Linked DNA regions of Homo sapiens: all the other regions are linked to region 2. The links are contacts of gene promoters, found by promoter capture Hi-C in blood cells and fetal thymus (Javierre and others, 2016). All regions are on one chromosome and are shown on one strand. Each heading gives the region's core, a stretch centred on a gene start or on the middle of the fragment in contact. The rest is flanking DNA. Distances are from core to core; before and after follow the strand shown. Region 1 overlaps STARD10 (StAR related lipid transfer domain containing 10). Region 2 holds the start of FCHSD2 (FCH and double SH3 domains 2). Region 3 overlaps FCHSD2 (FCH and double SH3 domains 2). Region 4 overlaps ARAP1 (ArfGAP with RhoGAP domain, ankyrin repeat and PH domain 1).

What was found. The method cuts DNA at HindIII sites, captures the fragments that hold promoters and counts their contacts. A CHiCAGO score of 5 or more calls a contact.
Region 1: a contact is called between a fragment that was not itself captured here and the fragment with the promoter of FCHSD2 in region 2, in 1 of 17 cell types (neutrophils). The highest score is 9.5, in neutrophils.
Region 3: a fragment that was not itself captured here is called in contact with the fragment with the promoter of FCHSD2 in region 2 in 5 of 17 cell types (total B cells, M2 macrophages, naive B cells and 2 more); the score reaches 6.0 in total B cells.
Region 4: a fragment that was not itself captured here is called in contact with the fragment with the promoter of FCHSD2 in region 2 in 1 of 17 cell types (neutrophils); the score reaches 6.2 in neutrophils.

Annotation. Positions count from the first base shown.
Region 1 is chr11:72,756,864-72,763,675 of GRCh38, reverse strand. It overlaps STARD10 (StAR related lipid transfer domain containing 10), which reads left to right. Exons shown (of 7, transcript NM_006645.3): 3 at 4,295-4,442; 4 at 5,043-5,146; 5 at 5,792-5,909. Among named protein-coding and RNA genes, the nearest start is that of ARAP1, 7.9 kb to the right of the region's middle. RefSeq lists an enhancer at 614-823. The HindIII fragment of the contact is 5,833 bases long and covers 1-5,598 here.
Region 2 is chr11:73,137,715-73,144,735 of GRCh38, reverse strand. It overlaps FCHSD2 (FCH and double SH3 domains 2), which reads left to right and starts at 2,418. Exons shown (of 20, transcript NM_014824.3): 1 at 2,418-2,879; 2 at 4,608-4,705. The coding sequence starts at 2,859. RefSeq lists enhancers at 1,270-1,409, 1,490-1,599, 3,470-3,699, 3,199-3,820, 3,920-3,969 and 1 more and silencers at 1,830-2,209, 2,370-2,749, 3,150-3,289. The HindIII fragment of the contact is 9,673 bases long and covers 1-6,871 here.
Region 3 is chr11:72,867,355-72,874,570 of GRCh38, reverse strand. FCHSD2 (FCH and double SH3 domains 2) reads left to right here. Exons shown (of 20, transcript NM_014824.3): 13 at 6,545-6,706. It also overlaps the pseudogene RNU6-672P. Among named protein-coding and RNA genes, the nearest start is that of ATG16L2, 57 kb to the right of the region's middle. The HindIII fragment of the contact is 722 bases long and covers 3,253-3,974 here.
Region 4 is chr11:72,689,575-72,693,783 of GRCh38, reverse strand. It overlaps ARAP1 (ArfGAP with RhoGAP domain, ankyrin repeat and PH domain 1), which reads left to right. Exons shown (of 35, transcript NM_001040118.3): 28 at 1-92; 29 at 314-459; 30 at 999-1,031. Among named protein-coding and RNA genes, the nearest start is that of ARAP1-AS2, 8.8 kb to the left of the region's middle. The HindIII fragment of the contact is 2,865 bases long and covers 1-2,682 here.

The DNA of each region.
Region 1 (6,812 bases), core at 1,433-3,932, 380 kb after region 2:
CACATCTCATTAGTCTCCTCAGTCTAATGTAGTTCTCTCTGTGACTGTCATGATCCTGACACTTATAGGCCAATTATTTTATAAAATGAGACAAGCCCTCATTCTGGGTTTGTCTGAGGTTCCCTTGTGATTCTATTTATGTTATGTCTCTGTGGCAGAGGTAGCACAGAAGTGATACCTGTATTCCTCTCACTGTGTCCTACCAGGCAACACCTGACAGCAACTTGTCCTGTGATTAATGAGATTCCCTTTGATCACTTGATTAAGGTGCTATTTGCCAGGCTTCTCTACTATGAAGTGACTAATTTTCCCTTTGTAATTAATAAGTATTTTGATGGGAAGTTACTTTAAAACTATGTAAATCCCCCATTCCTCATCAAACATTCCATTTACTTGTTTATTCATACCTGTATAGACTTTGGTTTCCTATTTTATTCGATGGAATATCTACAGTTATGGTCATTATTGAGTTTAATATGCAGCTTATCTCAGATTGAGCCCATGGTAGAGTGATCAACTGTCCTAGCTTGCCTGGGACTGGGGGATTTCCCAGGATGTGAGACTTGCAGTGGTAAAACTGGGGAAGTCCTCGGTAAACCTTGAAGAGTTGGCCACTGTGCCAGGGGAAGAGCCCTTCAAGCTGGTTCCGGTGTCCAAAATCTCTATCATTCTTTGAGTATTTGCTTACTTCCTGGCACAAGAAGATGTTCCATGCTCATCTTATACTTTCTCTGACCCAGCCCTGGAATCACCCATTTTTCCAAGAAGACCTAGAACCAGGGACCTTTTGAGTAGCAGGCTATACCACACCACGGAGACTGAGCCAGATGGAACTCATTCACTGCCCACAGGCCACACTCTTGCCTGCCTCTGCACCTTGGCTGGCTGTTCTTTCTGCCAGGGGCACTTGGCAAACCCCTACCTCCTGCACTGAGATTCTCCATGAAGCCTGATCCCCCGACCCAGCCCATGGAGCTGATTTCCTTCTTATGCCCCCAATGAGCACTTTAGGACATCTCCCCATTTCCAAGGTGGGCTCCTCCTTTCACTGCAGACCTCTCAAAGACAGGCCTCGAATTCATCTCTGACTCTTCTGGGCTCAGTACAGGGCTGGAGCTGGGGGCTGCTGATTAAATGGTTGGATCTAGTTATGCCCCATTATAGAGCAGAAAGGTAAATGGGGTAGAAAGGGAGGGTGAATTGTTTAGGGTGACACAAACAATATTGCAGTCTCGAGTCTGTCCTTGAACCTTGTTTTTCTTAATCCTATAATGGGGCCAATATCCCAGAGCGCTGCTGTAAGAATAAAATAATGTGTATAAAGCACTTAGTGTAATACCTGGCACATGGTGGGTGCACCTGTCAGTATTGCTGGGGGACCTTTCCAAATTGTTTTCATTATTTCAGAATTAGTACTATACATGTTAGATAATAAGAAATATAGACAAGTGGCCGGGCACAGTGGCTCACACCTGTAATCCAAGCACTTTGGGAGGCCGAGGCGGGAGGATCACCTGAGGTCAGGAGTTTGAGACCAGCCTGGCCAACATGGTGAAACCCCGTCTCTATTAAAAATACAAAAATTAGCCAGGCATGATGGTGGGTGCCTATAATCCCAGCTACTCAGGAGGCTGAGGCAGAAGAATCACTTGAACCCGGGAGGCGTAGGTTGCGGTGAGCCAAGATCGTGTCATTGCACTCCAGCCTAGGCAACAAAAGCGAAACTCCATCTCAAAAAAAAAAAAAAAAAAAAAAAAAGAAAAGAAAAGAAAAAGAAATACAGACAAGCAAAATGAAACCATCACATTCCTATCTATCATTTAGAGATCTCCACTGTTAACACCTTAGCAATTGTGCTTCCTGAGCTTCCTCTATGCGTATATTTTTTTTCCCCCAATTGAGGTTATGCTGCTTTTTTTTTGTTTGTTTTTTAAGATGGAGTCTTGCTCTGTCACCCAGGCTGGAGCACACAGCATGATCTCGGCTCACGGAAACCTCCACCTCCCAGATTCAGGCGATTCTCCTGCCTCAGCTTCCTGAGTAGCTGGGATTACAGTTATGTGCCACTACGCCCAGATAATTTTTGTATTTTTGGTAGAGATGGTTGGCCAGGCTGGTCTCGAACTCCTGACCCCAAGTGATCTGCCCGTCTCAGCCTCCAAAAGTGCTGGGATGACAGGTATGAGCCACCGCGCCCAACCTATTTTGTAACCTTTTTTTAGGCAGCAGTTTCCACCATTTTGTTTCTGTAAATTTTCAGTGCATTTGATACTCTGATCATGTTCACTTTTCTCCAGTTGTCCCAAAAATCCCCTTTATAGATGGTGTGTCCAAATCAGTTTGCAATGCAGAGACACACTTTACATGTGGTTGTTATGTCCTGCCAGTCAGTCCCACCCAGCCCCTTTGTTTACGTTGACCAGTAGAAGAGCCTGGGCCAGGAGTCCCGTGGAATGATTCACTGTCTGGCTCTGTCTGGTTGCATTCTCATGTGGTGTCACTTAGCTCATTCCTCTGTCCTCTGTATTTTCTGTAAACTGAAGTTATATCCAAGGCGTGATGGGTTTCTTGGTGCCTAGAATAGCTAGCAGGTGTCGGTGTGTCCTTCCTGCGGCATCCCACCACCATTAGTGGGGCCAAGGCCTATTCTGGGATGAGGGGGAAGACAGTGTGACCTCTCCCTCATATGGTTGCTTATCTCCTCTTGTGAGTGGAAAAGTATTATGTGAGGGTTCCCTTGGCACTGTCTAAATGCCAGTTCTGGGAGATCTTTTTAAACTACACAAGAAAACTTGTCCATTTGCTGAGAGGAACTTGATCTTGGGGATAGGGCACTTGGGTAAAAAAAAAAAAAAATCACAGAACAAGGATATTGAGTTTCATCTCACTGAGTGCAAACCTAGGGAAACCTCGTTCTGATTTTACTTGCTTTCCAGACATGTGATCTGGGTTAAATCCTGGCTCTGCTACTTACCAGCTGAGTGACATTGGGCGAGTTACTTAACCTCTTTGAGCCTCAAGTTCCTCCTTGGATTTCTTATCTGACAGAGTTGTTGGTGAGGGGGTTAAATAAAACAAGGTGTCCTTGGCCGTCTTCTACCCAGATGGAAAGCTCTTTGAGGGCAAGGCTAATACACAGTAAGAAATCCAGGCTGGGCGCGGCGGCTTATGCCTGTAATCCCAGCACTTTTGGAGGCAGAGGCAGGTGGATCACAAGGTCAGGAGTTAGAGACCAGCCTGGCCAACATGGTGAAACCCCGTCTCTACTAAAAATACAAAAAATTAGCCGGGAGTGGTGGCAGGTGCCTGTAATCCCATCTACTCAGGAGGCTGAGGCAGGAGAATCCTTTGAAACCGGAAGGCAGAGCTTGCAGTGAGCCGAGATCACGCCACTGTACTCCAGCCTGGGCAACAAGAGCAAAACTCCGTCTCAATAAATGAATGAATGAATGAATGAAAAAAAGAAAGAAATCCAGGCCGGGTGTGGTGGCTGACACCTGTAATCCCAGCACTTTGGGAGGCCGAGGTGGGTGGATCACAAGGTCAAGAGATTGAGACCATTCTGGTCAACATGGTGAAACCCCATCTCTACTAAAAATACAAAAATTAGCTGGGCACGTGCCTGTAATCCCAGCTATTCTGGAGGCTGAGGTAGGAGAATCACTTGAACCCGGGAGGCAGAGGTTGCAGTGAGCCAAGATCGCGCCACTGCACTCCAGCCTGGGTGACAAGAGCGAAACTCCATCTCAAAAAAAGAAAAAAAAAATCCAAAGATGTTTGTTGAAGGAAAAACAAACAAACAAACCACAAATAAGAGGACAGGTGGTATGGCCGCGTGATAAGTACCAGGGAGGAAATAAATCATCCACTTTGGCATTCGACTTTCATTTATGCTTTCATTTCATTTAACATGTAGCTATTCCAGGCTCCAGGCTGAAGCAACCATGAGCCTCTGCCCACGAGGAGCTCACAGGGGTCTGGGAGGGCACAGACATAGAGATGCATTGTGTGGGAGCCCAGAAGGTCTGGCTGGGAAGGCTTCCTGGAGGAGGAGACTGGGCTGAGTCGGGGGAGATGGTCTCTGGATACAGAGGCTGTCTGTCTCCTGGCACAGGTGGCTTTTTGGGGAGCTGGACAGGGCTTGTGGCAAGAAGGAAGTCCATGCTGGTTTCAGAGGCCCCTGTTCTTTGCTGTCCTCTTTCTCTTCCTCCCCCTCTGCCTGTCTGCCTTCTGGTCCCCTGGCCAAGGCTCTGAGCCCCATATGATCCTGACAACCCATATATCTTGTCTGCAGTGCCGGATGGAGTGCTGTGATGTGCCAGCCGAGACACTCTACGACGTCCTACACGACATTGAGTACCGCAAGAAATGGGACAGCAACGTCATTGAGACTTTTGACATCGCCCGCTTGACAGTCAACGCTGACGTGGGCTATTACTCCTGTGAGCAGGCGTAGCACGCTGATCCCAGTCCCCTTGGCCTCCATCCAGGCCTCCCACCAAGCCTCCTCTTCCCCCCTCCCTCCTGTGGTTACTCACATGACCAAGCTGCTCGGAGACTTGAGTGCTGAGAGATAGAGCTGCCCTCCCTGTCCACTCCTAGACCCTTAGGCACACACCCATACACTTACAAATACATATGCACTCACATGTTCACGTATATACATACACACATAGGCATACACTCAATCAGGCACACAGCCCCCACCCACATGCCACATAGTCCCAGGCACACATTTTCATGCACACTCATACTGTTTTTCTCTTGTACACTCACGTTCACGTAGACAAACCAGCCAGGCCAACAATGTAAGGGCTATGTGAGGCTGTAAGGAGCAGGGCTGGCTGGAGACAGTAGGGACAGGTCTTGCCCTGTCTCTTTTCTGGCTCCAGCTGTGGGACTGTGGTCTGGGAGGGAGGTGTATCTTTGCACTGGAGAGCTGGCAGTTAATTAGGCATCCCTGCATCTCTGGCCTCTGCCACACCCTCCCTTGTAGGCAGGTGGACCAGTGGTCTGGCTGAACTGTCCCTTGCCCCCCACAGGGAGGTGTCCCAAGCCCCTGAAGAACCGTGATGTCATCACCCTCCGCTCCTGGCTCCCCATGGGCGCTGATTACATCATTATGAACTACTCAGTCAAACATCCCGTGAGTCAACCTGCCTTCCCTGCGGTGGAGCAGGGGAGAGGGTCAGGCAGCGCAAGGCTGAGGCTGCCACCATGACTTCAATATGACTTCGGGCAGGCATGGGCCCACTGGCCCTCAGTTTCCTTCCTGTACAGTGAGGATAATGGCTCCTCTCTCCCTGCTGGGTCTCTTGAGCAGATCAGGAGAGGGCAGTGTGGCCACCTCTGTGGCAAGTGGGTGGGATGGGCTGACTTCGATTGGTTGGGCTCTGGGACAGGGAAATGAGGAACAAGAGGTGAGAGGCAGGGTCCTCTGGTCCTCCCTGAGGCTAAGCCACCTTGATCTCCCTGGGCAAGGACAGGCAGGTATAGCTGGCCTGGGCAAGGGTGAGTGTGTGTGTCTGTGAGTGCCCATATGTGCTCATGAGCCCTGACCCCAGACTGGGGGCTTTTCTGAGGGGAACAGGAAAAGCTTCAAGAGGGGCTAGGATGACCTACTCTGGTTCTTCCCTTTCTCTGCACCCAGAATCAGGACTGATCTGTAACAGATGTCACGGCATGTGAATTAACTGTATGTGTGTGTGCGCGTGCGCGTTTGTGTATACTCACAAAAACATCTTCTTTGCCCCCACCCCGAGTCTCACCTCCCTGTGCCTTCCATCCCCAGAAATACCCACCTCGGAAAGACTTGGTCCGAGCTGTGTCCATCCAGACGGGCTACCTCATCCAGAGCACAGGGCCCAAGAGCTGCGTCATCACCTACCTGGCCCAGGTGGACCCCAAAGGTGAGGGCTTGGCCCTGGCAGCCTATCATGGGATCCTTCCCTATACCACAGGGGTGGGGCCTGATCTACTAGGGATCCAGAAGGGCATCTGTTAGGAGCTGTTTTGCATTTTGGGGCATTTCCATCCAAAGCCTTCCTTGAACCAAGGCTTGGGACTTTACAGTGGTTTGAAAAGAGTGGGCCAGGGAGGTGCCACTGCCCCACTGATGAAGCTGGGAGCACTTTTCCTGGGCTCTGCCGTCCCCATGCTCTGCCTTGTTCCCTGCTCACTGGCTGTTCCCTCTGCCTGTCCTGGATGCCTGGGTTTTCTAGGCCTTAGTCTTCTCTCCCTGGGGATGGCTCAGCCACCCCTGTGGCTTCTGTCACAAGTGGCCATGTCTCTCTCAGCTGAGATTCAGATTCCTGTGGCCATCGGCCACCTGGACATCTCCCTTCGGATGTCTTCCAGGCACCTAAGCCTCGTTGTGTCCAGTGGGGAACTCGCCATCTTTCCTCCTAACTTGCCCCTTGCCCTAAGTCTCCACTTTTCAGTCACCCATGCCCAGAACCTGCCATCATTTGGGGTCACTCCCTCTTCCTCAGCCAAATCCAGCCATTGATTTTTTTTTTTTTTTTTTTTTTGAGACAGAGTTTCACTCTTGTTTCCCAGGCTGGAGTGCAATGGTGCAATCTCGGCTCACTGCAACCTCTGCCTCCCGGGTTCAAATGATTCTCCTGCCCCAGCCTCCCGAGTAACTGGGATTACAGGCATCTGTCACCACCCCCAGCTAACTTTTTGTATTTTTAGTAGAGATGGGGTTTCACCATGTTGGCCAGCCTGGTCTCGAACTCCTGACCTTGTGATCCACCCACCTTGGCCTCCCAAAGTGCTGGGATTACAGGCGTGAGCCACCGCGCTTAGCC
Region 2 (7,021 bases), core at 1,169-3,668:
CGGGCCAAGTACTGTGTTACTCCTCTTCCACTAGCCCAGTGTCATTCAAGGAATGGTTGGTCTGGAACTCAGTCTTGGCGAAGGCTGATTCTATCTTGCTCATCTCTAGAACCCCAGTGCCTGGCACAGGCTTGGAACAAAGCAGGACTTTAGCAAGTATTTTTTGAATGAATGATGAATCAATAAGCACTTATTTTATTTTTTATTTTTTATTTTTTTTTGAGACGGAGTTTCGTTCTGTCCCCCAGGCTGGAGTGCAGTGGTGCCATCTCTGCTCACTGCAAGCTCCACCTCCCGGGTTCACGCTATTCTCCTGCCTCAGCCTCCTGAGTAGCTGGGACTACAGGCACCCGCCATCACGTCTGGCTAATTTTTTGTATTTTTAGTAGAGACGGGGTTTCACCGTGTTAGCCAGGATGGCCTCGATCTCTTGACCTTGTGATCTGGCCACCTCGGCCTCCCAAAGTGCTGGGATTACAGGCGTGAGCCACCGCGCCTGGCCTCAATAAGCACTTATTAAGCACTACATGCCAGGCCCTGTGGTAGGAGAAATTCTATTTAATACAGTAAGCCTATGAGGCTAGCATTATACCTCCATTTTACAAGTGAGGAAACAAGGCTGAAATAAGTGAATTGACTAGCTCAACGCTTCACAATAAATTGGTGGTGGAGCTGAGACTGGAGCCCAGCCTACGCTACCTATGGCCTGGGCTCTAGCTGCCACCCCGCAGCTGTCAGGGCCCTGGGCCTCCATCCACCTGTCCCCTTGCCCCAGGCCTTCCCTGATTTGATTAAGGATTCTGGTGAAGGGCTAACTTTTGAAGCCAGAAAAAGCAAGACTAGTCTCCTAGTTCATACACAGCTCTAGATTAATCTTATTCAAAACACAGCTCTGTCACTTTTCTGTACAAGAATCTAGTCTAACTCAATGTAAACAACCTGGGTTGAAGTTCCACCTTTTCAATTTCTGGTCATGTGGTCATCTGGGAAGTTACTCGTCTATCCAGGCCTCATTCACCTTCCTCTTAGGCCTGACTGCACTTCTGAGAACAGCTGTCTGGGATCTCAACTTCTGAAAAAACGGTGGAGTAATCCAGCTCAGCCTCCACACAGCCCCGTGACTCAAAAAAAAAAAAAAAACCTCCCTGGGCATGGGGAAGAGGTATTCCTCTTCTGAGGACCCCAAGGGAGGTCGATAAACTCCCCCGTAGATGGTCTGAACAGAGCAGGAAGGTTCATGTGTGGTGGTGGGGTGCACTGCTTAGATAAGCACCCTCACTGGCAGATAAGGAAGCCGAGCTCACCTAGCCTGTTAAGGAGCAGGCAAAGTGGACTGGCACCCAGAGATCCTGACTCCCAGACAAGGGCTTCCTCTATGGCCTCTCCTGCCTCTTCTACTTTTCCTCGTGCTTATTATCCTGCACCTGTTTCTTTTTTAAAATAACCCATAGAACACTTCCTGACGCAGATTCTAGTCCTGCTGTGTAACCTTTAGAAAGGCTTCCCTCTATGGGCACTTGCCTCCCCGTCTGTGAAACGGGGGCCTCGGCCTTAACGTTCTCTTGGCTCCCTCTCAGCGGAGTCAGTGATGTTTGACTTGAATGCCCTGCAGTAGAGTGCCGCCGTTTCCTTTGCAGAGCAACTGCCTTTCCGCCCTACAATCGCAATGGCCTGGCACCTGCGGCCAGCCGCAAAGCGACTTGTCCTTGCTCGCCTCTCTCGCGCACATCTAGCTGGTAGGGAGAGTAGGGTGTTGAGGGGCTGAGAGGAAGAAAACGCCGGAATTCTCGTATCCCACAGGCATGCTGCGCCCCCCTCCCCACTGCAAACGTTTCCCTGCGAGCGTCGTCCCCCGCGCCCCCCGACACACACACACACACACACACACACACACACACACACACACACACACACACACACACACGCAAAGGCAGGCAGGAGGCGGGGGCGGCCTGTGCGCGTGCGTCGGCGCGGAGCCCTCTCCCGCCCACGTGCGCGCCCCCGAGCGGAGACGCGCGCGCCGGGGCGAGCTGGCGGGAAAGCGCGCGGGAAGCCCCCGGCTGGCTCCCAGCGTGGGGGAGGGAGGGCAGGAGGCGTCTGGAACGTGCCACTCTCGGAGAGAAAGGGGGGATTTTCGCGTGGCGCTGGCGTTTCTACACCTCCCACCCACCGACCAATCCGTTAGCTTCCCCCTTCCCCTGCCGCGGTACGAAGCCCCGTGCCGTGGCCTAGCTCCCTCCTGGCAGCCCGGACCGGCCCCTCGAACCCCGCTCTGGACAGAGCGGTTCCCTCAGCATCCGGAGCGGGGCGCTGCGCCGCGCGGCGAGGCCGGAAATTCCCGCGGCCTGAGTGGTGGAGCCCTAGCGGGGAGAGCGGCGCCACCTTCCTCCTCCCGGGCGGGCGGGGGCGTTAGGCCCAGCGAGGGCCGGGCCGCCTGAGTGGGTGGGGTGGGGGCCGCTGCGTCCGCCGGGAGCGGCGGCGCAGGCGGCCGACCGGGAGCGCGGACAACGCGGCTGCGGCTAACCCGCCGCCCGGCCGGCTGAGACCCTCGCGCCCCTGCTCCTGGGGCCCCCGCCCCCTCGCCGTCTCCGCCTCCTTCCTCACACACCCCCGGGCCGCCCGGGCCGCCCGGGCCCCAAGCCTTCCCGGTGCTCCTCCCTCGTCTCCTCACACTCGCTCTCTGGCTGGGGTCCGCCTGCCGCCCGCTGGCCTGCTCCCTCCGGGGCAAGTCTTGCTTCTTAAGCGCTCCTTTCACACACGCGCGCGCTCGCTGGGCCGTCCCCTCCTCTCCGGCCCTCCTCCTCCTCCTGGTCCTTGCTAACGCTGCCGTCGGGGAGGATTGATGTCCCTTCAGCATCATGCAGCCGCCGCCGAGGAAGGTAAGGGCGCAGCTGGGGGGCTTTGGGGTTCGGAGAGATGCGTACGCGGAACGCGGCTGGGGCGACCGCTGCGCCCCTTCCCCCTCCCGCAAGGGGCCGTGACCGCCCTCGTCTTGGGCTTGTCACCGACTTGCCGCCGGCTCCAGGTGGGGGGCGCGCGTGTGAGTTGCCTTTCCGACAGAGGGGCCGCCGGGGCTCGTCCGTCCTCTAACGCAGGAGACCCCCAGACATTTCACAAGAGTTTCGGGTGTGCATTTGTGTGTGTGCGCGCGCATGGCAATGCTGCCCGCTGCAAAGTGCATTCTCGGGGCTGCACCGAGGGGGAGGCGGGGACGCCCCTGCAGCTTTGCAGAGCCTTGTGCGTGTGTGATTGTTTAGTCTGCACCAGCTTTGAGCCCTCCAGCCGCTTGTCGCCAGCCCCGCCCGTTTGCAAATTTGCGGGGGATTTGTTTCTAGCCTAGCCTTAGGGTTTGGCCTGCTTTTCCCACGGGGCGGCCGAAAAGAAGTTGGAATAGTCACCGCCTCCCCACCCCAAGGGAAAACAAATTAAGGATTGACGGGTCCTGCCTCGTCCCCGGCTGAGGGGCGAGGAGGCTGTCGTGCTGTCTTCAGAAAAGCGAGGACCGGGCCCGGGAGGTGCGTGGGGTGTGCACTGCGATCCGGGGTTGGATGACCAGGGTGGGAGTGACGGATGCACCCGGCTTGTCATCAGTCTCCCCGCTGCGCCCTTCCCCAGCTTTCCCAGGGGCCGAGGCTGTGTCCTTGTCTTTTTAATCCTACAGATGGATACTGAATGTCTACTCTGGGCACTGGGTGGATGAGGCCGTTCTGTCCTCCCCTCGTGGGCAAACATTTGCCTAACGCCTAACTCACCCGTGTCTGCTGCCGCTGCTTTCTCTCTTTCCTAATCCGGGTTTCTCCATTTAAGTGAGTCCTTTTCTTTCGAACATGTACCCCCACCCCTCCGGGTGGTCCCACTGCTGAGGCCGAGATTCCAGACTGACCGTTAACTTCGAACCCTGGGGCCCCGGCCTGGCGGGCGAGGCTCTCTGGCCAGCAGGCATTTGCTGTTCTCCGCTGTTTGAAGTGGAGCCTCCACGGGGATCGGCTTCCCGGGGTAGTTTAAAAGCACTGCATATGCTGGAAGGTCACTTTTGCTTTCTCCTTTGTGAGAAAGAGATTGTGATTTGATGCGCTGTCAGCAAGTCGAGGGCATCATTCTGAGACAGTGTGCTTTTTCGCAGCCATTATGGAGTAATTTATGTAGTCGATTCAGGCATATTATCATGATTGTGTAAATATTGGTCATTGGGTATCAGGCACTCTTAGGCTCCCAGCCCCCATCCACACTCTGCTCACCTCTCCTGGTGGTTAATGTCTTTGAATCTTTTTTAGAAATAGAAGACAGGCTCTTTTAAAACTGTAGGAAGACCTAGACGTGGATTGAGCTTGTGCATGAAATGGAATGACTGGCAGTTTATTTTGCACGTCTTTAGTTTGTAATATTTATAGTCGTGTATTTTCATTTAACCTCTGTTCAGGCTATTTGGCTTTAATTTTTCATTAAATAAGTATCTTCAATAAATAAAACTAGATGGCGAATATTGGATTTATGGCCTTCAGGGGAGAGGCGAGCAAGAGACATATTCTGACAGATGTATTTTCCTGAAGCAATTTTTTTGGGTTAAATTTGTAAAAAGACCTTCATAAATATATGGTATATTTTAGGTGAAAGTTACACAAGAACTGAAAAACATTCAAGTTGAGCAGATGACAAAACTTCAAGCCAAACATCAAGCAGAATGTGATTTGCTTGAAGATATGAGGTAAGGCTATAGTAAATAGTTCAAGGACTTCTGTTTGTCTGTTTCAAAGAACCTTTGAGTTACCAAGCCCCAGGAACTGATGATGGAATTTCCTTTTGGATTTCCTGCTTTAAGGCTGTTAGAACTTTGACTCAGCTGGAAATTAGAACTGGAACTAACACAATACAAACTTTTTCCTTCAGTGGGGGACCTATAATGCACACATAGTATTCAGAAAAAACAAGGACCTTAAAAGTCTTACTAGTCAAATTATAATAATTAAAGATTCTTGTTTAAATAATCTTTCCACGGAATTGTAACAATCATTTTATTGACCTTAACGGTTTTACACAGTTAGATTTTTAAACCAACACTTGTGGTTAATGGTTAATATCTGGGGGTGAGCCAGTCAACCCCAGATGGTTATATGCTCTCACTGGGTTAGAACATGACAAATACAACTTTGTTTTTGAGTGCCAAATTTAGTGAGAAGTGTGTTTATCATATTTTATTTTATTATTGAGGTTACTCATATTCATAATCAAGTTAACTTTGAATAGCTAAGACATCTTGCTAATATTGTGAAAATCAGTATCTTTCTTACTAGAGGGATGGATGACTTATTTTAATGAAAGAAATACCACTTATTTAACAATCTTGTAATACAGACTGACAGTTCAACAAAGATTTTCGTCAAGAATGGAAGATGATTTGCATGGTGAAGCAAGAGTGGCTGCAATTCTTATTTCCCTTGTATAATACATTTATCAAATTGGAATTGGGTCTGTAAGCCTCATCAGTTACCTAGTTTTCTGGTGGTACACTAACTTCGTGTTGGTTTCATGAAAAATATTAACTCTGGTGTTAATGATAAAATTATGTGTTTGGATTGCTGTTTATAGCCCAAAGATTTTAGTTTCAAGAATTTCCTTTTTTCCTCTCCTATATTTAGGCACTATAAGCATTTCTGCTGTATACCTGTCTTCAGGGTTTATGACTAAGGCATATAAATCTATTCTCATCCAACCTGGATATATCAAGATTGTTGTTTTCTGACTGAAAATTACAATTTTAATTCTGTATTTGTCTTCCTTCCCTTATCATAGCCATAAGAAAATATTTAGACTTAAAAATTCCTATGCGAGGCCGTGCGCAGTCACTGACACCTGTAATCCCAGCACTTTGGCAGGCTGAGGCAGGCAGATCACCTGAGGTCAGGAGTTCGAGACCAGCCTGGCCAACATGATAAAACCCTGTCTCTACTAAAAATACAAAAATTAACCAGGCATGGTGGCGTGCGCCTGTAGTCCTAGCTACTCAGGAGGCTGAGGCAGAGAATTGCTTGAACCTAGTAGGCGGAGGTTGCAGTGAGCCGAGATGGCACCACTGCTCTCCAGCCTGGGCAACAGAGTGAGACCCTGTCTCAAAAAAAAAAAAAAAAAAAAAATTCCTGTGCAAGATATCTGAAACTCTTGACATGGTTAAAAATGTAAGGTTTTTTTAACTTATTAAGCAAACTAAGAAATATCTAGATGAAGAAAGTAATACATTTTCAGAAGCAGTTCAGGAAGGCAGAATTAGTGTGTAAGTGAAGATCCCGTGTGGGGTATGGGTGGTCAGTAGTTGTAATAATTTCTGTTGGTTGTGTCTTCTAAAGACTTCTTGATTGCGTTTTGTCTCCATTTTTCCCCTGTTGTCTGTAGCTTGGTGCAGGAGCTTATGGTCAAGAATATGGACACTGCAGTCAGACAGTCCTGAGTTTGTGTCCTGATATCTGTGCTGACTTGTAGAAAATGAATTAATCTTTATAAACTTAATTTTTCTTATTTGTAAAATGGGGCAATAATGGCCTCTGTTGCCCAAGGTTGTATTGATCAAATGACAATACATATGAGATGTGGCACACATCTAAGCTAAGTTGATATAGTCTGTTGCTCCTGTTGCTGTTGCTTAGTTTGTATTATTGCTGATCCATCACATTTTGCTTGCAATATACTAGTATCCTAATTATTGCAGTAGTGTCCTTATATCTTCCATCTCCCATCTCTTCTTTTAAATATGTCTTCCACATTACCACCAGTTAGCTTTCTAAAAACATTATTATAGATCACTCCTCTGTGGCCTTCTGGATAAAGGTCAAACACTTTGTCATAGTATATATGGTTCTCTGCAACCCAGCTGCAAGCTTCCTTTCCTGGCTTAGTTACTACCGTTTCATGCCCATGCATCCTTCCTCTTTCTTCCCCCTGCTCTGGTCACTCGGGACGTCAGGTTGTCTAACTGTGCACTCTACATTCATGCCCCTGTGTATGCTGTTGTCTTTGCCTGTTGGTACCC
Region 3 (7,216 bases), core at 2,364-4,863, 270 kb after region 2:
ATTTCTAAGAAAGAGCTTGTTGGTTCACTCTTTTAAAAAACAAAAATAAAAACATTTCATTGTTTTAAAATGAATACTAGAGGTCAGGCACAGTGGCTCGCACCTGTAATCCCAGCATTTTGGGAGGCTGAGGCAGGAGGATCACTTGAAGCCAGAAGTTCAAGACCAGCCTAGGCAACATAGTGAGACAGCTGTCTCTACAAAAAATTTTAAAAAATTAGCCAGGCATGGTGGCATGCACCTGTAGTCCTAGCTACTGGGAAGGCTACAGTAGGAGGATCACTTGAGCCCAGCAGTTCGAGGCTGCAGTGAGCTATTGTCATACCACCGCATTCCAGCTTGGGCAACAGTGAGACCCTGTCTCTTAAAAAAGCAAAAGCATACTACAATGGTGCTAGGGCAAGTGGATATCCATATGCAAAAGAATGAAGTTTGACCCTGTTAAAAGATAAACTTAGGCACATTAAATTTTTTTTTATTTGAGAAAATAGTGATAATTACTTGGGCAGCACCAGATCATATGCAGTTCAGGGTTCCACCAATGGAACACCAGAGGAATGCTTTTATAGGGTGAACTCAGAAGCAAAACAAAGCAAATATTTGATTGGTTAAAGTGGCACGGTAGTATCCTTTTTTGGATCATTCCAGTGGAAGGTTTCTAGTTAGAAGGTAGTTGGCAGTTTTTGATTGGTTAAGCTTCAGTTTTGTTTTACCATTTATACTGAGTTGAGTTTTGGTTTGCTTACGTAGGAACCCGGGATGCTGGAGCTGCCTCAGTTTAATGACCTTCCAGTTAATTATCTTAACAACCCCACTTTACATCATATATACAAACTAACTCAAAATGAATACCTAAATGTAACAGCGAAAGCTAATAAACTTACAAAAAAAACCACAGGGGTAAGTCTTTGTGGCCTTGGATTAGTTTCTTAGATATAACACCAAAGCCTAAGCAGCAAAAGAAAAACTAGATAAATTAGACATCATCAAAATTTAAAACTTTCATGTTTCAAATGACACTATCAAGAAAATGAAAGACAGCCCACAGAATGGGGGAAAATATTTGCAAATCATGTATCTGATAGAAACTTACTTCTAGAATATATTAAAACTCATAATAATAAAAAGGCAAAAATACTCAACTTAAAAATGGGAAAAGGGTCTGAATAGACATTTCTCCAAAGAAGATGTATGAATGACCCATAAATAAGCACATGAAAAGATTCATTTTTTTTTTTTTTTGAAACAGAGTCTCACACCATTGCCTGGGCTGGAGTGCAGTGGCGCGATCTCGGTTCACTGCAGCCTCCACCTCCCAGGTTCAAGCGATTCTCCTGCCTCAGCCTCCTGAGTAGCTGGGATTACAGGCACCCGCCACCGTGTCCGGCTAATTTTTTGTATTTTTAGTAGAGATGGGGTTTCACTGTGTTGGCCAGGCTGGTCTCAAACTCCTGACCTGGTGATCTGCCCGCCTCAGCCTCCCGAAGTGCTGGGATTATAGGCATGAGCCACCGTGCCTGGCCTAAGATTTGTAACATTAATAGTTATCCAGGAAAATGCAAACAACAGTAAGATACCACTTTATATCCACTAGCATGGCTAGAGTCAAAAGACAGACATTAACAAGCATTTGCCAGGATGTGGAGAAACCCTCATCACCCTACTGGTGGGATCAAATGATAAAGCCACGTTGAAAAACAGTCTAGTATTTCCCCAGATGGTTAAACTTAGCATTACTTCATGATCCAGCAATGCCAGCCCTACATATAAACCCAAAAGAAGTGAAAACATGTCCACACTAAAATTTATACACACACGTTTATAGCAATATTATTCATAATAGCCAAGAAATAGAAACAACCTAAATGACTCCCAACTGACAAATGGATAAACATTCTAATGTATATCCATACAATAGAATGTTATTTGGCCATTAAAAAAATGAAATACTGATACATGTTACAACATAGATGAATCTTGAAAATATTATGCAAAGTGAGAGAAGTTAGTCATAAAAGACCATGTATTATATTGTTTCATATGTGTTAAATGTCTGGAATAGGCAAATCTTTATAGACAGAAAGTAGAATAGTGATTGTCAAGACTGCAGGGAATAGGGGGCTGGAGAACAATAGGTAAATGGTACATGGTTTCTTTTGGAGGTGATAAAATATTCTAAATTTGACTGTGGTGATGGTTGCATGTACTATGAATATACTGTAAGCCACTGAATTTCAGACTTGAAATGAGTGAATTGTGTGGTTCTAAAAAAAAAAAAAAAAAAGAAAAGAAAAAAAAAGTTGTGTGCCAAAAGGTCTTTGTCACCTGAGCTATATGTCAATAAAGTTTTACCAAAAAAAGAAATTATGAAAAGAATAAGCAGATTTTTGCAAGAGTATTTACCAATTGGAGTGCCTCTAAGCCAAAAATTCCAATTGTCTTATATAAAGACGTATATGATACCCCAAACCATTGTATTGTATACTTTAAAATGGTGCAGATAGTAAATTTTATGTAATGTTTTACCTCAATTTTTATAAAAATCTATTTGCTTAAAAACGTTAATATAAAAAAAATTAATTCAGCAAAGAAAGCCCAGTGATACAAGTCAGAACATAAATTGTTTTTGATATCAACTCCCCAAGCAGAGAATTCGGAGGGAAATCAAAATTATGTACCTGTTGGGCACAGCAGTTCACACCTGTAATCCCAACACTTTTGCAGGCCAAGATAGGAGGATTGCTTGAGCTCAGGAGTTCAAGAGCAGCCTGGGCAAAAGAGCAACCACTCTGGCTCTAAAAAAAAAAAAAAAAAAAATTATGTACCAAAGGTATTTGTCACTGGAGTGCAGTGGCTATCTATTCACAGGCATGATCATAGCTCACTGCAGCCTCAAACTCCTGGACTCAAGTGAGCCTGCCTCCTCAGTCTCCTGAGTAGCTTGGACTCCAGGTACAAGCCACTGCACCAGCTCCAACTTGTTTGTCCAAGAGTCCCACAGAAAGCCACCAAGTGAGAGTGGAACTTTACTTAGGTTAAGTAAGTGGAACCTTACTTAACCTAAAATTAGCTTAGTGGAACCTTAAATGTTAAGGAAGAGATCACCACTTGCATATGTGAAACAATGAAGCTGAATGCATTACTTGCTAAGCAAAAGAGGCTGAATGTTTTACTTGCTAAGCAAAAGAGAATGACACAAAACACATTGACTCTGAACAAAGCAAGAGTTGATATATAGGGTTTTGAGAAGCTTGAATGTCAGGGATTGGCAGATTTTCAAAACTAGGAATGTTTAAGGGGTTGGCTCACTTTCAGCCTTGGTTTTTAGAGTTTGGAGGACTAGTAGAAGCAGAAGCTGTCACAGATTAGCTGACTTTCAGAGGCATGGCTGTTGGAGCAAAGCAGCAGTTACTTTCTGATCGGGAGGGGTTTAAAACTAGTTCTGTGGTTACTTGTTTATGGTTTATGGAACAAGGGCTAAAGAATAAGCAGTTATTCCCTTTCTTGAATTTGGAGAATAGGAACTTTTTATTCTCAATCTCTGCTATTTCTGCCAGCCACATCATAAATGTAGTTTAAAAGCAAAGACATTACTGTTAGTCAACAAACAAGTTAGTCAATAAAGGCAGCCAAGTCAAAGGGGGAATTCTTTTTTTTTTTTTTTTTTTTTTGAGACGGAGTCTCGCACTGTCACCCAGGCTGTAGTGCAGTGGCGCAATCTCGGCTCACTGAAAGCTCCGCCTCCTGGGTTCACGCCATTCTCCTGCCTCAGCCTCCCGAGTAGCTGGGACTACAGGCACCCGCCACCACGCCCAGCTAATTTTTTGTATTTTTAGTAGAGACAGGGTTTCACTGTGTTAACCAGGATGGTATCGATCTCCTGACCTCGTGATCTGCCCCCCTCGGCTTCCCAAAGTGCTGGGATTACAGGCGTGAGCCACCGCACCTGGCCCAAAGGGGGAATTCTTTAAGCTTGTGCTGAAGAATGTTAGAATTGTTAGAGAGAAGTTCTTTTATATTAAAAATTATTATTATTAAAGAGACACAGTAGTTTATAACTCAATATCATTGAATGGCAGTCTTTCAAGATTGGTAGAGCCAATCTTGAAAGAATTGGTAGAGCCTATTCAGTCTTTTCTTGGAAAAGTAGAAGCACAGTTATATAGGATATTTATTCAAAAAAGGTTACTGAACACATAACAGGAGAATAACGCTGAATGTCAATGCTCGAGTCTTAAAGGAGCCCCCAATTATATCAAACAGGCATACTTAGTTAAATAGCTAAGTATAATTTCGTGCCTATCACATTGTAATTAGATCTATATAGAGTGCTTTAGGAGCAGAGAAAAAGGAATTATTAACTGCCTAAGGAAGGTTGAGAAATACTTAGAAAAATCTTTGTGGAAAGGGTAATATTTGAACGGACCGTCAAAAGATAAGCACTCACCAGGCATCAAAAAGCAATGAGAAGGCCTTTACAGAGGGACTGGCACGCACACAGGCACGCAAGCACATGATGGATCAGAGGAACAGCAAGTGGGACAGTGGGGTGGGAGCATAGGGGGGTGTGGAAAGAAACAGTAGAAGGAAATAACTCAGCCAAACTGTGAAAGATATTTTTTATTCCTAGTTAAGAATTAGTTAATTCTTTACTCAGTAGACAGTCAGGAGTTATGAAAGTTTTTAAACTGGGGAGCAACATGATGAGGTCATTCACAGACTGTAAAAGATGGATTACAGAGGAGAAAAAGTCCAGGAAATGGGTTAGAAGGCTACTGAAAATGCTGGATTTCAGGGTGTTCTGAGGCATAGCATTATGAACAGGAAAAGGAAACAGACTTTATCACTCTTGATCTCTTCCTCTTCACAAGTTATATTTGATCTATCATCAATACCATGCCCTTGTCAAAATGCAAGTATGTGCTCACTTCAGCATCACATATACTAAAATTGAAATGATGCAGAGAAGATTAGCATGGCCCCTATGCAAGGATGACACACAAATTCGTGAAGCATTCCATACTTTTATTAAAAAAAAAAAAAAGCAAGTATTCCATTGTTAGGAGACCCTGATTCCTTTCTTTTGTTCATGTTCTCTGTCTCTCTGCCTCTGTCTCTCTCTCTCTCTTCTTCCCTCCCCCCAACCCTCTCTTTCCCTTCTTCACTATCTCCCCTCCCTTTCCCCTTCTCTTGCCCTGCTTCAAGTGAAAAATTAGCATCTGTGCCAGGGAAGAATTGCTAGTGAATATCAAGATTGTTGTAATTAATCGATTAGGAAGAACTTAATTAATTTGAGGGAAAAAAGCCTTGATTTCCTTTTTTTGATAGGGATATAAACAAGAAGTTTATAATAAATGGTAACTTGGCTGGGTGAGGTGGCTCATGCCTGTAATCCCAGCACTTTGGGAGGCTGAAGCAGGTGGATCACCTGAGGTCAGGAGTTCGACACCAGCCTGGCCAACTTGGCAAAACCCCGCCTCTACTAAAAATACAAAAATTAGCCGGGTGTGGTGGTACACACCTGTAATCCCAGCTACTTGGGAGGCTGAGGCAGGAGAATTGCTTGAACCCAGGAGGTGAAGGTTGCAGTGAGCCAAGATCATACCACTGCACTCCAGCCTGGGTGACAGAGTGAGACTCCATCTCAAAAAAATAAAAAATTTAAAAAAAAAAGGTAACTTAAAAAGTAAAAGCTAAGCTGCATTGCCACCAAGAATACAGTTGTGCAAAAATATGTCTGCATGTGGACAAAGCCTTGAGAATATTTGCCATGTAAGACTGATAGGATCATGTATGATTTTTTTTCCTTTTAAGTAATTTCCTTTCATGACGGTTATATAGTTTCTTGGTTTGTTTGTTTGTTTGTTTGTTTGTTTGTTTTTAACAGAGTCTTGCTCTGTCACCCAGGCGGGAGTGTAGTGGTGCGATCTCCCCTCACTGCAACTTCCCCTTCCTGGGTTCAAGTGATCCTCCCACCTTAGGCTCCCAAGTAGCTGGGACTACAGGCCCATGATACCATGCCTAGCTAATTTTTTTTTCAACTTTTAAGTTCCCGGATACGTGTGCAGGATGTGCGGGTTTGTTATTAGGGTGGTGCAAAAGTAATCCTGGTATGTGTGCCATGGTGGTTTGCTGCACAGATCAACCCATCACCTAGCTATTAAGCCCAGCTCCATTAGCTATTCTTTTTAATGCTCTCCTTCCCCACCCATCGCCCTCTGACAGGCCCCAGTGTGTGTTGTTCTCCCCCACTCATGTGTCCGTATGTTCTCATTGTTCAGCTCCCACTTACAAGTGAGAACATGGAGTGTTTGGTTTTCTGTTCCTGCCTTAGTTTGCTGAGGATAATGGCTTGCAGCTGCATTCATGTCCCTGCAAAGGATATGATCTCTGTCCTTTTTATGGCTGCATAGTATTCCATGGTGTATATGTACCACATTTTCTTTATCCAGTCGATCATTGATGGGCATTTGGGTTGATTCCTTATCTTTGCTATTGTGAATAATAAAAGCCTTGATTTCCGACCATTTTCTTGGTTCTCTAGATAATTAAATTGAAAGCTGAAGCCCGGTTGGACCTGCTAAAGCAGATTGGTGTTTCTGTGGACACATGGCTAAAGAGTGCCATGAACCAAGTAATGGAAGAACTGGAAAATGAGCGATGGGCCCGCCCTCCTGCAGTGACCAGTAATGGCACTTTACACTCGGTACGATTTCTTTTCTTGGATATGACAAGTTGATTTTCACTGAAGCATGCTTTGACTCTGTAGTCAAACTTAATAATAGCCAAAATTTTTTAAAAAGATAATAGTTTGCTAGTGATTTAGGTTTTATTCTTCAGCCTATCACTAATTGATTTAAAATTATTGCGGGAAGTGAAAGAGAGGAAAAAATGAGTGTTTTTTTTAATGTATGATGAAGAATATGTTATCACTATTTGGGTTATCGATGCCTATCTACCAAACTCATCCCATTCATAGAGTAAATATGCTTCGTGTCTGGAAGTAATAGAATAGAAAACAATCTAGTGTCTCTGAAGTTCTCAGAGGTCTTCTTTAGTGAAAATGAAAATAAACATCCAGAGATTTGCACAAAATCTTAAGTGAAAGGAATGTTCTTCTTAGTACGTGGGCTTAGTCTGAAGGTGACTTCAATTCTTGACAGCTTTCATATTCTCCTCACATAGAGAGAGTGTAGGTGAGTTTTACAGACAAGGC
Region 4 (4,209 bases), core at 1-2,500, 450 kb after region 2:
GAAGGTGCTGCCCATCCTGCACGGGCTGGGCACGGACAGCCACCTGGTGGTGAAGAAGCACCAGGCCATGGAGGCCATGCTGCTGTACCTGGGTAGGTGGTGCCTGCAGGGTGGCCAGGCTCCGGGTGGTCCTCTCTTCCAGAGCCAGGGTGGGACCTGGTGGTGCCAGGTAGGAACAGCTCAGACAGAGGGCGCCAAGTGGGTGGGCCTCTATGGAGAGGCTGGGGCAGGATGGGGCAGCTTCCTTCATCCTGGGACCCAGCCCCGGGTAGGGGTTGGTGCAGCCTGTGCCCACTCCAGTCCCACCCCCCAGCCAGCCGTGTCGGTGACACCAAGCATGGCATGATGAAGTTCCGTGAGGACCGCAGCCTCCTGGGCCTGGGCCTGCCCTCAGGTGGCTTCCACGATCGCTACTTCATCCTCAACAGCAGCTGCTTGCGGCTCTACAAGGAGGTCCGGGTAAGTGGCCCCGCTGGGTTCTGCCCCAGGGTGGGCACCTGTACACCTGAATGTGCTCAGAGATTCCCCTTGGTCTGCAAGTGGAAATATTCCCGTTACAGGCTCTCAGGATGGCACAGCAGTGGGGGAGAACTGTAGACTCTCAAGACCCCTCCTGCTGTGGCCCTGGACGGCCACTCTAGTGTGCCCTGTAGCCCCACTAAGCCCTGGCACCCGGATGCCATCACACCACTCCATGCCCATGCTCTGTCTCACTGTGCCTGTGCCTTATCACTGCATCCACAGGAACCTGTTACTTGATGACAGCCCCAAGTTGTGCATGCATGCCTTGTCATATCGTATGTCATATGCCTCCCGGGCCACCCTTCTCCCTCATTCTGTCCACATGCAGGTGTTCTCCCAACCCAGACTCCATTTGACACCCTCCACCTTCTGCACATACATGCCATACACACACCCCAACCCCACACATCACTGCACATGCTGTCCTGGCTCTAGACCTGGGACTTCTTCCATAACCCTGATCCTCTATCAAACAGAGCCAGAGGCCGTGGAGCGGGGCCCCTGAGACCGTGAGTAGCTGTGGGCTGACTGCCAGCTGCCTTACACCACCTGGGGGCCAAATGAGCTGGGTGGGAGCATGGGGAGACAGCCAGGGCTCCTGGCCATCTCCAGGCATGGATCCCTGCCCCCTTGCCCGTTGGCACTGGCCCCTATCCTGGGGCCTAAGCTCCTCCCCTTTATCCCTAATCCTGTCCCAGGGTCCTTTCCCCAATATAGGGTTCCTTATCAGTGCAATGCTCTAGAATTTTCCAAAGGACTTAGTGTAGAAGTTAAAGAGCCAGTAATGATGGCACCTAGGTTTGAATTAGAGCCCTGATCTTCATCTCCTGTCATCCCTGGAGCCACCTTATTTCCAACCCTGGACAGTGTTCCAGGACTGTCAGAATGTTCTTGCTACTGCCCTGATCCTAACATGCCGGGGTGGGACGAGAGAGGCTTGTGGGATACCCCCACCTGGGGTAGCAGTCTCTCTGAGGCTTCCTGGCTGGCTATTTCCACTCTGCACACTCCTAGGAGAGAGAGCTCATCCCTCCGCCCTTGGGGCTGCCCTGTTCCTAGGGGGATACTTCTGTCTGGAAAAGGTCCTTGCTCAGGTTCTGCTGAGAATCTGCATCTCATGATGCCCCCATGGGTCCCAGCTATGCCTTGGGGGCTACAGAGCATAGATGCCCTGCAGCAGGGGTCCCCAACTGTTGGGAACAGGGCCGTGCAACAGGAGGTGAACATCGGGCGAGTGAGCATTACTGCCTGAGCTCTGCCTCCTGTTAGGTCAGCAGCGGCGTTAGATTCTCGTAAGAGTGCGAACCCTACTGTGAACTGTGCAAGCGAGGGATCTAGGTTGTGCGCTTCTTATGAGAATCTGATGTCTGAACATCTGAGGTTTTACAGTTTTATCCCGAAACCATCCCCCCACCCATGGAAAAATTGTTGTCCACAGAACTGGTCCCTGGTACCAAAAAGACTGGGGACTGCTGCCCTGCAGGATGGGCAACAGAGACATGGTTCCAAGCCTGGTGGTCTAGCCTGAGCTCCCACAGCTACCCACCACCCCATCCCCAGTGTCTTCAGCCTCTTCCTGCCCCTTGCATTTCCTGAGGTCATCTGAACAGGCTTGGCTGCCATGGCAGGAGCAGAGCAGATAGAGCAGGACCTCATCTCCTTCTCTTTGCATTTTGTGCCTCCTCTAATGCATCCTGGGCTCCTGCTAACCCTGTGGGAAACACCGTCTCTTCTCTCCTTTGCCCTCTTCTGTGATCACATCCTCACTTCTGAGCCTATCTGCCCATCCAGTCAATCCCCCTTGGTTCTGGGATGCTATTTCCCTGGCCGCCTCCCTCTAGGAGTGTTTAGAACCCTCACTGTGGGCAGAAGGGAGGGAAGATGGCTGAGGTACCTGGAAAGGGACGTGTGGATCCCTGGGCATGGAAGGAAGGAGGCAGGAGAGCTAGAAAAAGGGATGAGATCTAATGTTCCCTAAGGAACCTGGCTTAGTGCTGGCCCTTCACATACTGAGACATGGAATCCTTACTACTGTTCTCTGAGGAAGAGGGCTGTCCCCACTTCCAGGTGAGAAAACAGGCTTTGTGTGACTTGCCCAAGGCCATCTATAAGTGTAGACTGGGACTTGCACCCAGGTTTCTTAGTGTGGAAACGCAAGCTTGTATTCCTGGAAGTCTCAGACTTGAGGACTCAGCAGGGAGGGGTGCTCAGCACAGGGTAGGTGGTGCTCTTCACACCCCAGAGACAGCCAACACCTCTGGCCTGGCAGAGGCCCTGAGCAGATGTGAGCTGGTTACCACGGGGTTATCAACTCTGGCATTTGTTGGTTTATGCGGCAGTAGGACAGAATATTTGAAATTGGGACAATCTCAGGTGATTCAGTAGGATATATGTCCACTTGTGCCTTATCCTGGGGGTCTCCTCTTGTTAAAGACCCTGAGGCACCTGGAAAAGGCACATGCTAGAAAGATCTTGGTTCCAGCAGAGATCCTTAAGCATCAAGAGTAAACGTCATTGTCTGCCCATGGCCCCATGCCTTGGAGATGCTGGAAACATGAGCCGTCTGATTAGAAATGTCCTTGGGCCAGGTGCAGTGGCTCATGCCTGTAATCCCAGCACTTTGAGAGGTCAAGGTGGGAGGATGGCTTGAGTCCAGGAGTTTGAGACCAGCCTGGGCAACATGGTGAAACCCTGTCTCTATAAAAATTAGCCGGATGTGATGGTGCATGCTTGTAGTCCCAGCTACTCAGGAGGCTGAAGTGGGAGGATGGCTTGATCCCATGAGTTGGGGTTGCAGTGAGCTGAGATTGCACCACTACACTCCAGCTTGGGGGATTCATTCTCAAAAGGAGATTGCATTGACTGACATCCTTCCCTCCCAAGACCCACTTCTGCAGACTTTCTGACTCAGCCACCCTTACATCACACACATGTCATGCACATCAGACCCCAAGGAATCGGAGGCCTGAGGGTTGTGTTTTCATTCTTGGAGCCACAGCCTGGTTTGAATGTCTTGATTCCTGCAGTTGCCTCTGCGCCTGACTGGGCCTGTCCCGTCCACCCTCAACTCACTTGACTGCTTGCTTCTAGTTCTGTTCCCCTCCCACCCACAGCCTGACTTCTTCCAAACCCACAGCCTGTTTTCCATCCCCTCAGCCGATTCCTCCTGTACCTGGAGTCCAGTTTCCCCCACATCCTTCCTCATACCCAGAACCTTGTGTTTTCCATGCCTGCAGCCGAATCTCTTTTATAGCCTCTGTCTCAGTCTTTCCATTTCTGCCATCAGCTGTCTTCCAGTTTGCAGGCCGATTGCTCTAGTGCTCCCAGCCTTGCTTCTTCTGTGTGTGCCTACAGGTTTCTTCCTTATATTCCCCCACATCTTGTTTCTTCCATGTCCGAAGCCTGATTTCCTCCCGCCTGCCTAATTTCCTCCCTGTCTGCAGCCCTGATTGTTCCATGCCTGCAGCCCAGTTGGTTCCAGGCCCTCCTGGGCACATGGCCATCATCAGGTTAGGTGCTGTCTGTAGAAGACATGAGGCTTTCCAATCAGCAGGTATCGGGGTAAAAGCAGAGTGAAAAGTCCTTACTAAGGCCCTCCTAAGCCACACCCCCTGTGAGAGCACAGAGGTCTTCTCCAGTCCCTAAGCAGCCCATCCTTTTGTGATATCACAGGAAGTCCACCAGTTC